Linked DNA regions of Homo sapiens: region 1 is linked to region 2. The links are contacts of gene promoters, found by promoter capture Hi-C in human tissues and cell types (Jung and others, 2019). All regions are on one chromosome and are shown on one strand. The core of a region is centred on a gene start or on the middle of the fragment in contact, and the rest is flanking DNA. Distances in the headings are between cores, read along the strand shown.

Region 1 (6,801 bases), core at 3,533-6,032, 44 kb before region 2:
ATCAATAGGTCCTTCTGCCTTCCTACATATCTTCCTTTTTAATTTCAACCTTTGCTTCAGAAAAATTAATCCTAGACCCTAAGTCAGATGATCTTGAATTTGGTCCTGGCTTTGGTAACTAAAAAGATGAGCAACCTATTAGAATTTCTTACAGTAGTAAGTCCTAGAAGAGACCACAAGGATAGCCCAATCAATGCACTCATTCTGTAGGTGAGAAAATGGGTCCAGAGAGGTTTCCATGAATTAGTAGAAAAGCTAGGATTAGAACATATTTCCAAAGTCTTGTCCCTGATACTCCTTCACAGTGTCCTTTCTTATTTGTAAAATCTATTTATTAAATAAGAGTTCATTGGGTACCTGGTATGTGACATGCATTGGGCCATTGTCAGGGGGGATATAAGGGTAAGCTCGTGGTTTAGTAGGGGAACTGGTTGTTCAAATACTTTTCTTACAGTTTGATGAGTGCCAAAAAAAGGTTTGTGTAAAGGTGTAAAGTGTCACATAAAGAGAGGGAAGGAGCACTGAACTCTTCCTGAGTCATGACAACATTCACAAATAGGGTGAATGTTTTGTTGAGTCTTAAAGTATAAATAGGAGTTTCATAAGAATACAGAGTGGGCCAGGGCATTCCAGATAAATAGTACCACATGAGAAAAGGCACAGAAATATGAAGAGGCATGACATAGCTTAACAACCACGAGTCATCTGGAAACTAAAGAAAGGTACAAAAGATCTTGTGCATGACACTAAATGATTCAGACTTGACCTAGGAAAGCAGTGATGAGTCATTAGCATAGCAGAAAAAAGAGAGGGGCAGGATCAATTCCTTGCTTTGGAAAGATAATGATAATATTGTGAACAGAAGAATCAGAAGCTTAGGAGACCAGCTAGGAAAAAATTGCTGGGGACTATATGAGAGAAAATGGCAGCCTCCGTAAAGCTAGTAATGCTGTAGGAATGTGTAGAGAACTGACTCAAAGACCATTGCAGAGTTATAATCAATGGCCTTGATTTATGTTGGATACAAGAGCTAAGGGAGAGAAAATAACCAATAAATGAAAATAATGCATTATGTTTATCTTATAGGATATTACAAATGAAATAAGGTTGTGGATAAGAAAGTACTTGGGGACAAAAACAACAATACGCAAAGCTCTTTAATATGTAAGGCATTTTTATTATCACAAGATCTTATTATCAAATACTATGTTGGTTTGCTCTTTGGCACAAAGACATGGGTCAAATGCATTTTGAACAAAGAAACATGGCAAAAGGAAAAGTGCAATGTATGGCGTTGGATTTATCCATTTGCTCCTCCAATAGTCATTGGCAACATTATGGATTAGGCTTTGCAAAGTGGGAGAAACAGAGAGATGAACCAACCACACTCTCTGCGGAAGCATCAAAGGTTATTGTTTACATTTGCTTTAAGAAACTTACCTATTTCAGTAAAGAAGCACCCTCTCAGAGTTTCTCCAACCAAATTATATAATAGATCTTTGAAGAGAACTACCTTAGGTGAATGGCAGAAGATGTTTAAATGTGTGAATCTGGTTTAGCTGCTCCACCAATAAGCTGCCAAATTGAGCTTTTTGGTAATTATCAAAACATCTGTAATAGGATTAGTGTGTCAGAAACAGCTGCTGCTTTCTTGGTAGGAGAAGGAGGTGGGGAATTGGGACATGGACTTCACTTTAGCCCAGATGTTTCTCATTTGGAGAAAGGATAAAGGATAGACACTGAGTCAGTGAGAAGGCATCAAGACAAAAGTGAAAAAGGACATGATTTCAAATTGCACTGGCCCTAAGTTGACTCAAGTGCATACCATGGGCATGTGGTGAGCAAAGCTTCCCTGCTCTCCACAGTCCTGGGAGCTAGACTTGTTTGCCAAAAAATGTCCTAGTAAAAATATTTATATGAAAACAACACAAAGGCAGTGTTAAGAGCACTGCTGACCCCTTACAGTTTGACCTCATCTTTCCACCGCAATAAGAACTTGGAAAATCTCCCTCTCTATGTGAATGATGCAAGACTTGGTTACACTAGGTGGTTGAGCACTTCCTTCTGGCTATGAGCCTTCAAAGACGGGGAGGAGCATGTGGGAAGCTCCAGTGAATTACAGGAATACTTCCATGAAAGAGGCTGCTTCTGCTGAGAAAGGTTGTACAAGTTACTACAAAATTCAGACTCTAGCTCTCTACTTGTAGAGTAACCTGGTTGAATCCAACCATGTATTCAAGTAATCAATGGACAAATATTTATTGAGCACATACAATGTATAAGGCAATGTGCCAAATTCAAGGACAGCATGGAACGGGACAGACAAATTTCCTGCCCTTATTTGTCCTCATAGTCCAGGGAAAATATGATTGCTCAAGTAAGAATTTAAATTGCAATTGTCATAAATATTGCAAAAGACAGCTGACCAATGAATTTAGTCATGTCATAGTTTTTATAGCTTTAGGCTGTTCTGCATGTGTGCAAAGTGTTGGTCATTATGTTGCAGAATCCAGTAAAACCAGAATCTACTAAAAATGAGCCTTCAACTTCCATTTTTTAAATTAGAACATTATCTTAGGCCCTCCCGCTTTGGTACTACCTGTGACAATTTTCTGCCTTCCCTTCATCCAATATCTACTCAACTTCTGACTCATTAGTTCCCATTCTGTGTGCTTTTGTTTTTACTGATGAGAATTCTGTTTTTGCATCCATCATGCACAATGAAACACCCTTCTAGGAGAAGATTAGACAAGGATGACTTCACTTAACTAATGGTCAGTCCCAGGACAGAGCTAGACTCAGAGGGTGCCTTTAGGGATAGGGCTGAGCAAAGCCTTTGGCCAATTATGAAGGCAAGCCTTCTCTTTGATGACCCACACTTCCTCAGTAGGCACTATTTCTTCCTGTTCCTTTTTTTCTTTCTTTCTTCGCTTAAAACAACCTTTTTCCTTATCTCTAGCTTTCAAAATCATATTAGTTCTTCAAATACCACCTTAATTGTCACCCTTTCTATGGGATTTTCCTGCTTCCCACATGCCTGATAGGCAGCTCCTTTAAACTCCCTTAGTACTTTGTAGTTCTGTTGGGATATCAGAGCCTGTCTTATTTTATTTTGCTGATATTTTATTTTGCTTCTAACTAAAATGAAACTATCTCATTCATCTCTGTATTCTATGCAGCCAGTGGTACAAAACTTTACATACAGTATGTACTTAATTAGAATACTTTAATATAGATCTTCAAGTTAAAGTAAGCTTATTTTTGAATCTTGACACTGCCTTTTACAAGGAGACAATTCACTTATCTCTGGACCTGCTTATTCATCTCATCAAAAAGTAGAATAACAACAGTGACTTTATAGGGTTGCTAGGAGCAGCAAATGATGTGTCATATGGAAATCCCTAGCCTAGAATATGGTTCATTGGGGAATTCTATAAGTGTTTGTTACCTTTTCTTCTCAATATCATTTATTGAATTAAAAATGAATTGAAACTAAGGAAACTGAATTTGAAAGATATTGAATAACCCACATTTTCCCAAAATTCTACTTCACTTTTTTTTTTGTAATTCCGTTGTTTAGAGCAAGTGTCTGTAGTCAAAACCTATGGGCCAAATCTGGTCAAACACTTGTTTTTGCAAATGAAGTTTACTGAAACTCACTGTGCACATTCATTTACATATTTGCTATGACTTCTTTCACAATACACCTGTAAAGTTCAATAGCTGCAACAGAGATCTTATGGCCATGGCTGGCAATGCCTAAAATACTTAATCCCCTAATCCCTAGCCTTTTGCAAGAAAAGTTTGCCAACCCATGGTTTCTAGTTAAGTTGGGGCTCTTTTTTCAGAAAACTTCTATGAATATTCAAATATAGTATCTCCAATAGGTGATGTGTCAAGTCACTTGCACTTGTTGTCATATTACCTTAGATCAAATTACCAGATGAGATCTGAAAGCAAATAGTAAGAATTAAGGGAGAAACTCTGGCAGTGGCAATAAAAGAAGGGAAGTACTGGGCCAAAGATGTTGACTCACAAAATAGAGAAATAAGCTTTGTTTTGTGAGTAGGGGAGTGAAGAGCTGATAATCAGCCATGAAAGCAATGGTTGGTGAACCCAAAGAAATGAAATCTGAGTAAGAGGAAGAGCAGTGGCAATAGTAATACTAGTTACCCATCTTTACCAGAATTCCCAAGAACACAGAGATTGAGACAAAGGCTATATGCTAACGCCCCCCAAATTATTGAGACTGAAATCCCTGAAAACAGAAGTAAAATAAAGGGAGGAATGAGTCATGGAAAGGCTCAATAGCATGCTCATAGCAAGCACTGCTGAATGCTCAGTCCCACAGGGCATCTTGAGAGAACTGCCTGAAACTACTGCACTCTAGAGCTGTCAGGGAGCAAAAAGAAAGCCCAGCTCTGAGCTCCTGTTACTCAAAGTGTTCACAGGATATTGAGTCCACCTCATCTCAGAATTGCACCTTTCCACCTGGGGAAGCCAGAACCTGAGGCAGCAGCAGTGACATCCACGGCACAAGTCACGGCATGAGGGGTGAGCCCATAGGTGCCCGTGAGCCTCATCTGCAGCCTGCAACTGGCAGTCTTGCTGGCCTGGCTGAGTAAACCAAGGCACCAATGTGGGCACCTCTCAAGGTCTGTTGAGCCTCAGGGGCAACAGGGAAGCACTGGCATGGGAAGTACAAAGTGAGGCAAGCCACCGCCAGGTCATGAAAGCCAGCGACACAAGGCAGCAAGAAACTTCCTCACAGTGGGGCTGTTTGGCCAAGTAATAGAGTACCAAAAAGACACAGCCCCCACCATGGAGAGCTGCCATGTGGATTAATCGAAATCCAAACATCCCTTCTGTGGCCTGCAGGAAAACATTTGACATTGGGCAATCTTCATTGAGAGTCATCAGCCACATAGACAAACACTCACAGAATCTGCAGAGGCTCTTAAACTAAGGCCAGCACATTACAGCGACTGCTATTGAGCACCTTATTGAGCACCTGCTATAGCTAGGCTATCTTCAGACGTCTATATATTTTTAATCCTCAGGATACCACCATGAGGGCGAAACACTAGTCTGCACTTTACATATGAGTAAACCCAGGCCCAGAGTAGTTAAGTAACTTGTTCAGATACTTTCACTTATTTGGGGCATGTGGAAAAGAGACCAAATCCCTCCTAGGTGGCCCCAGGGAACAGAACTGAGGCCAATGAGTAGAAATTACTAGAAACCAGTACTGAGAATAGGAACTTTCTAAGAGTCTGAGCCAGTTTTCCAACAATCAGGAGAGAAAGTAAGGTGCCCACGGATGGCACTAATGAGTACATTGTGGATTTCTCTGGGAGAAAAGCAGGATTCTTTGCTCTGGTGAAGATTGAACTAGATGAAGCCAGAAGTTTTCCAGAATCAATACCAACACACTTTTACTGATGTCATTTTAACATCAATGCAGGAGAAGAAAAGATACTTATAAAATAATGGAAATATCCACCAGTATTCAGCTTTTAATATGTACCAAGCACTTGGCAAATAGCCAGATATATATATATATATATATATATAAAATTTAGTCTTCATAACAACTATGAGTTAATTATTATCATTATTGTCAATTCACAAAAGAGAAAACTGAGACCGGCAGAGGTAAATCACAGAACCTTGCCCAAGGTTCCCAGCTAGTAAATGTCAATAATTGACTGCCTGCTAAAGCCAGTGCTCTGCTCTGCTGCCTCAAATATTCTGCATTTGCCTGTTGTTCTGAACTCAAAATTTTGGAGCCTGAGCACCTGTGAAAGAAAAGCCACATGTAAAGACACTAGATGGGTCATTTTGGTAGATAAAGTTGTGTTTTAAACAGCTTTTACTTTTTTTCTGTCCACGTTCTCTGAAAATCCTTTCCTCATGAATCCTTTATTTTTCCATTACATTTAAACACCTCCCAGACTGTTTGCTGCCATTTAAAATGTTTTGAAAAGCATTTTTGCAGGTTTCTTCCAATGAAAAACTAACAAAGTCATCAAAAGACAGACTGTTTTTTTTCCCCGCCTCAGAGTAAAAATCACATTGGGGAACAACAAGGAAATTAAAATAAGAAAAAATAGCACTGGGAGCAAGACATTAGTATGACAAAGGGCTCATGACTGGTAATAATTTTAGGTGATACAGGCATAGTCAAGTCTGCAGAAAATAAAAATAAAAAAGGAGAAAAACTTCAGCATTCTGAAGCCTCTGGCACCAAAAAGCCAGTGACAAGATAGCCCAAAACTGCATCCATGGAAAATCACAGCTGCAGCAAACCGCAGGCTGATGGCTAAAAGCTACCGCTGCATTGTTTCCAATCTCCGCCTGAGACAGCACACATTTATCAGTGGTCTGTAATGCCTCGCAGCAAAAAATCTTTAACTGCTTAAACTATATTTTAATTTTGAAAAGACACATCTTGCTGCAATTTACTTTTTTTATTTTTCCACCCTAACAGAAATGTTTCGCCTTGAGTTATAATCTAACACTTTCCTCTTTTTGGGGTTGAGACTGTAGGCTCTGGAATCAGACTGCTCTGGTTTTTAATGTTGGTTCAAATACCTAATTTAGAGATGTGACCCTTAGATAAGTTACTTCACCATGCTAAATCTCCATTTCCTCATCTGTAAATAGAGATGATAGTAGCTCATTCCTTATACAGCTGTTACTTGGAGTAAATGAAATAATGTATGCTAAGTGCTTGAAACAGATCCCAGCACTTAGTACATTTTTTTAAAAAAATTAGCAGTGACTATCATTTTTCGTCCC
Region 2 (6,286 bases), core at 1,683-4,182:
TAGACTAAGGAAATCAACAAATACTACAAATCAGGGTGTTTTCCTCCATATACCCAACTGATCAACACTTATCAGCAAGGGTGGCAGTTTCTCTTCGATGTGGTTAATGAAGACAAAACCATAAGGTAGGGGAATTATTCATGGTTACTTCCCCAGAATGTACTCCCATACTGTTCCTTTCCTTAACAGAACACTAAATAACCCAGCCATATAGTTTGCTTGATACCTTGCCTTCAGCTACAGAATGGGGCCCTTATTGTCTTAAGCAAAGTGGTTTAATCCCAAATCTCACTACAGTAAGCCTGGTTTGAAGACATATTCATGATCCAAATCAGGCCACCCATGACCACTGAGGCTGATTTGAGGGAGCTGCATTTGAGCTACCAGGAAATTCAATCTGTCATTCCTGTTACATATGAATAAAGAAGCACAAAGCTCTGGAAGACACTGGTAATCATCTTAGAACACAAACGAAAGAGACTGCCCATGCATGAATATAAGCTGAGGACATAAACCAAGAAATAGTGAGAGAAAAACTAGGTTGGACTAGGCCTTCTCTGAATATCTAATCTTAGGCTTCCTGTAAGTTAATGCCCTTAGTTAGACTGAAGTGGACTTTTAGTTATTTGTACAAAAATGATTCCTTTCTAATACACAATATGGAGTGTGTATCTTTAGATGAGGTCTTTGCAGGAAGAAAGTAAACACTCTTCACACTCTTCACCCTTCGTATGATAACTTTATATGGGTATATGCCCGACTCTTCAACCAGGGAGCAAGCTCTTTGTAGGCTGAAACTTCTTATTGCACATCTTTGTGTCTGTAGTTACCTTAATACTGCACCCTGCAAGTGGGGAGCAAGTAGTAAGTGCTTAATATAGGTTTGCTTAATTGAATTGGTTAGTAAGTCAGAGAGAGATTGTGCAAGAAATGGAATGAATCAGAGTAAATTCCTCTTCGCTTCTTTGGCCAAGCAGCCAATATGAATCCATCTGTTGTCATTTCTGAATGTCCCAGAGAAAAAGGAATGAAGCAATGTAGCTCTTGAGTCCAACAGTCCAGTCTTTCAACTGAAGGAAGTTGTAGTTTTCTTCTGGGATAGAGTGAAAATAGGCCTTGGTCTTCCACTTGGCATAAACAGTAAGAAAACTCCTTTGGTCTATGTTTCCATGATGCTAAGTATCTGGATAAGAATGAAAATGTGCAGTCAACATGCTTCAGAAACTCCATGCATGTGATACCACATCAGCAAAATATCAAGTTACTTAACCAGACTTCTCATTTTCTCTGCAGGAGTCTGGGTTGTTTATATCCATGAAAGTGATGACAATGAGTATAACTGTCCCAGAACAGTGTGGCACTGTGAGTCTGAATGAAGCCAGTCCCTTATTACTTGGGGAGGGAGATAGGTATGGAACACTGGCAAGTCAACATGAATGTTTCAGTTACATTTCAAGGAAGAAGGAGAAAATACCCATAGAAACAGGAGTGCTGCCTGCTTCTGCTTTCCCATGCTTCCTCTGTTTCTTTTCTTCCACAGCCCTATTGATGTCCAACTTACATCTTATTTATTTACATATTTTTCTTTTTTTGAGAAAAGGTCTTACTCTGTCACCCAGGCTGGACTGCAGTGGTGCGATCTAGGCTCACAGCAACCTCCCTCTCCTGGATTCAAGCAATACTCCTGTCTTAGCCCCCTGAGTAACTGGGATTACAGGCATGCACCACCATGTCCAGCTATTTTTTTTTTTTTTTTTTGTATTTTCAGTAGAGATGGAGTTTCACCATGTTGGTCAGGCTGGTCTCGAACTTCTGACCTCAAGTGATCCACCCACCTCTGCCTCCCAAAGTGCTGGAATTACAGACGTGAGCCACCACGCCTGACCTATTTTCAAAAATTTAAGTTTTCTATTTCCCAAAATATAAGTGCCAGGAAGGCAAGGATTTGTCTTTATTTTTGTTCACAGCTGTATTCCCACTACCTCAAATAGATTTTGGCATGCAGTAAATGCTCAAGAAATATTCATTAAACAAATGAATGGCCTTTAGGATGGCCATTTGCCAATAAGTTCATAAATTAGAAATTAAAATGGCCAGGTTAAAAAAAAAAAAAAAAACATTGTTTTTCTCCCCCCAAGTTAAATTAAAAGACCTTGTGACAATTAGTTCTGGCTCAACTAAAGTCTAACTGTGTGACTATAATCAATTTGCTTAACATTCTGCTCCTTCATTTCTCCATCTGGAAAATGGGCATAATAGTACCAGAAACATTCTTCAAAAGCTTTCAAGACTCTCAAAAGAGGCAACAACTATAAAAGCATTAGGTTCAAGATTCAATGCAGATGCTTAGCATTGTTTCATAAAATTAAATAAGGATCTCATTGTCCTTTAACTCACTAAGCTGGCAAAATTTCATTTTTCTGCTTCTGTTCTTATACATACTAAAGACTATACATTAAGCAACTTTCTGTATTTTCATTTCATCCAAAGTATTGTTGATATAAATTTTAATTAACCAATCATTTTCAAACAAAACTGTAATTTCTGACACTTTAAATTTGCCTTCAAAGTCACAAAGTTTTAAAGATAAAAATAGATATACTCAGAAAATCCAACCTGATATTTATTGAGACACGTGAAATGGCATTTTTCCAGGGTAATCATTCCTTCCCCCTCCCAATATGTCAATAACAAACCAGGGTTTTTGTGGTGGAAATTCCATTTATTCTCTTCTCATTTTCTCTTTCGAGCTAAATTCTATTGTAGAGTCTTCCCTTCCAACCTTTAAAAAGCGACCCTGTACCTTTAATAGTGGAGACCTGGTGAGAGGTTCTTTTCCAAACTTGTTCCCTGGCTTCCAAGTGACGAAACCAGCTGTAATTTGAGAGCAGAGAGATCCTCAGGATATCTTTAGCCAAAGGAAAAGCTCCGCATTCCCACCCAGTCCAGAAATTGAAATACTATCAGGGGGCAAGAGCCTTTCTCTCCAGCTACACACTCCATCTCCCGGGAGCAAGGGGAAACTCCGAGAGGAGGGCAACAGAGCCAGCATCTTGCCAGGGCCCCGGAGGAGGGGTTCCCCGCTACGCCTGTGCCGGAGGAGTTCCAGTCACCGAGCGAGGGGCGCAAGGGTGGGTGCATCCTGCGCTGCGGCGGGCGCGCTACCCAGACGCTGGTGTGCAGAGCCACATGAAGCCTGCTGGGGACTGGGGGCCAGGGAGCAGCAAGCCAGCTGGGACTGAGGCGGACGCTGTCTCAGGGAGACGCTGACTCGCAAAGACACTCCCTTCCTTGTGCCTGGGTAAAAAGTCTCCTCCTGGGGTCCCTGGCCATCCTGAATATCCAGAATGGTGTTTCTGAAGTTCTTCTGCATGAGTTTCTTCTGCCACCTGTGTCAAGGCTACTTCGATGGCCCCCTCTACCCAGAGATGTCCAATGGGACTCTGCACCACTACTTCGTGCCCGATGGGGACTATGAGGAGAACGATGACCCCGAGAAGTGCCAGCTGCTCTTCAGGGTGAGTGACCACAGGCGCTGCTCCCAGGGGGAGGGGAGCCAGGTTGGCAGCCTGCTGAGCCTCACCCTGCGGGAGGAGTTCACCGTGCTGGGCCGCCAGGTGGAGGATGCTGGGCGCGTGCTGGAGGGCATCAGCAAAAGCATCTCCTACGACCTAGACGGGGAAGAGAGCTATGGCAAGTACCTGCGGCGGGAGTCCCACCAGATCGGGGATGCCTACTCCAACTCGGACAAATCCCTCACTGAGCTGGAGAGCAAGTTCAAGCAGGGCCAGGAACAGGACAGCCGGCAGGAGAGCAGGCTCAACGAGGACTTTCTGGGAATGCTGGTCCACACCAGGTCCCTGCTGAAGGAGACACTGGACATCTCTGTGGGGCTCAGGGACAAATACGAGCTGCTGGCCCTCACCATTAGGAGCCATGGGACCCGACTAGGTCGGCTGAAAAATGATTATCTTAAAGTATAGGTGGAAGGATACAAATGCTAGAAAGAGGGAATCAAATCAGCCCCGTTTTGGAGGGTGGGGGACAGAAGATGGGGCTACATTTCCCCCATACCTACTATTTTTTTATATCCCGATTTGCACTTTGAGAATACATCTAAGGTCATCTTTCAAAAGAGAAAAATTGGACACTTGAGTGACTTTGTTTTTAGTTTTGTTTTTGTACATTATTTATGTGATTGTTATGGAATTGTCACCTGGAAAGAACAATTTTAAGCAATGTCATTTCTAGATGGGTTTCTAATTCTGCAGAGACACCCGTTTCAGCCACATCTAAAAGAGCACAGTTTATGTGGTGCGGAATTAAACTTCCCCATCCTGCAGATTATGTGGAAATACCCAAAGATAATAGTGCATAGCTCCTTTCAGCCTCTAGCCTTCACTCCTGGGCTCCAAAAGCTATCCCAGTTGCCTGTTTTTCAAATGAGGTTCAAGGTGCTGCTTTGCATGCCTGCCAACCCATGGAAGTTGTTTCTTACTTCTTTTCTCTCTTATTTATTAACCATGGTCTGAGAGTTGTTTTTGTTCTATGTAACAGTATTGCCACAAAACTATAGGCAAATCGTGTTTGCAGGGAGATTTCTGATGCCTCTGTGGGTGTGTGTAAGTTAAAGTGGCCACATTTAAGAAGGCCAAGCTTTGTAGTGGTTGCACAGTCACACTGATATGCTGATTTGCTCTTTCTCATTGTATGTCTATGCTTTGTCATCAGTGCTATAGTAAATTACAAAGAAATAGGTAGATTGTATGAACATACCCACAAATGCCTATGATTTAGGTTACCAATGTATTCTTTCTCATTTGGGGTTTTGCTTCTGTCTGTCTGTTTATTGGAAACTTGTACTTCAAGTAGGGGGAATCCTAATTCTAATAACTCCTTAGCTAAGTTTTATTATTCAGGCAATAAACATGTTTTCATGTAATACTGGCTTACTTTGTAATTTACATCTGTAACTTTCATATTTCTAAAAGGGGCCAATGCAAAAGGAGAGAGAAGGACTGGATTTAAGCCAGTTTACTTAGAGTATATGATAAAGAAGGCAGAGGAATAGCTACATATTTGGCAATTCTCCTCTCTGTAGTCACCCTGACATCCTCACAAGAAAACAAATCTAGCCATTGCCCAAACTTTAAATTTGATCTCTATAGGTCTGCTTAAAGACTCAAATTTTCTCCAGTTTCTCTCATAAATTCAATTGCAAAAGTTTCTGACAAGGCTCATACCCTGTACCCTTATGCAGAGCAAGCATTCCATCCTAAGTTATAAACTACAGTGATGTTTAATTTTGAAGCCAGGTCTACATTATTTAATTAATGGCTTCAAAAGGTGGAGATGCACTTTATTTAATGTCTTTCCCTAGCTAATTCTTACTCTCACCTTAAATATGCTTTCTTGTTGCATATATGCACAGATACACACACACACACACACGAAAATAAATAAATGTTCATATTCTTCTGTTCAACAGACATTTATTTTCTCCTCTCCCTTGAATAAGAAAATAAGTTTTCCATTCCTATGAACTGTCTAATATCTTTCTATTACAGAAGGGGAAACTGAGGCTGGGAAAGGCTAAATGACTTATCCTCCATCAGTTATAACAGCCCCTGGTCTTCTTAAATTTAAACACGGGACTTCCCGAACTAATTTTTTTAAGGATACTGAAAAATGAGAGAGAGTGGTCGAATGCCTGAAATTTTGCTTAACTTACTGTACTTAAAATCAATTATAACTTCTTTTTGTTACTCAGGGCCCCACTTTTTGTTGCTTTCTAGACTTGTGTGTAGAAAGAAGATTAATGATCACTTAAAGTAGTTTCCTTCTTTATTCTGAAAAAATGAGGAAAAAATAACAACAGTGGCAAATAAAATCATATTTGGTACTAAAATGTTTGTAGTTTGAAGTCACAATCATTCATGCCTCAAAACATTTATATCACTCACTTCATAGTGATCATTTGGTAATTCATAGACTTACAAATGTCATCTCCTTGATTTTCCCAGCTGTAATGGGAGGATATTGGGCATGTGATAGTGATGGAAAACTGTTTTCCCTGTGCATGCTAATTTCAATCTATTGGTAATGCTTCCATACCATATTATGTTATCAAGGATTCAAAAGACACAGAAGTGAAGAGTGTCATCCCTAATTAGAGATATCTTCCATGGGTGCAGGAAGGGGAATGGTAACACATCTGCTACAAATTTGAAAACCCTGAAATAGATTATGTATGAGGTTCTTTCCAGTGCTAACATTCTATGATTCC

What was found. The method cuts DNA at HindIII sites, captures the fragments that hold promoters and counts their contacts. A contact is called where the count stands out against the background at its distance.
Region 1: a fragment that was not itself captured here is called in contact with the fragment with the promoter of FIBIN in region 2 in 1 of the 25 tissues and cell types used here (IMR-90 fibroblasts).

Annotation. Positions count from the first base shown.
Region 1 is chr11:26,945,708-26,952,508 of GRCh38, forward strand. No RefSeq gene overlaps it. Among named protein-coding and RNA genes, the nearest start is that of FIBIN, 45 kb to the right of the region's middle. RefSeq lists an enhancer at 4,092-4,592. The HindIII fragment of the contact is 4,464 bases long and covers 2,551-6,801 here.
Region 2 is chr11:26,991,180-26,997,465 of GRCh38, forward strand. It overlaps FIBIN (fin bud initiation factor homolog), which reads left to right and starts at 2,933. Exons shown (of 1, transcript NM_203371.2): 1 at 2,933-5,908. The coding sequence starts at 3,348. The coding sequence ends at 3,983. LOC124902650 (a long non-coding RNA gene) reads right to left here and starts at 2,932. Exons shown (of 2, transcript XR_007062630.1): 1 at 2,804-2,932; 2 at 720-1,183. The HindIII fragment of the contact is 11,169 bases long and covers 1-6,286 here.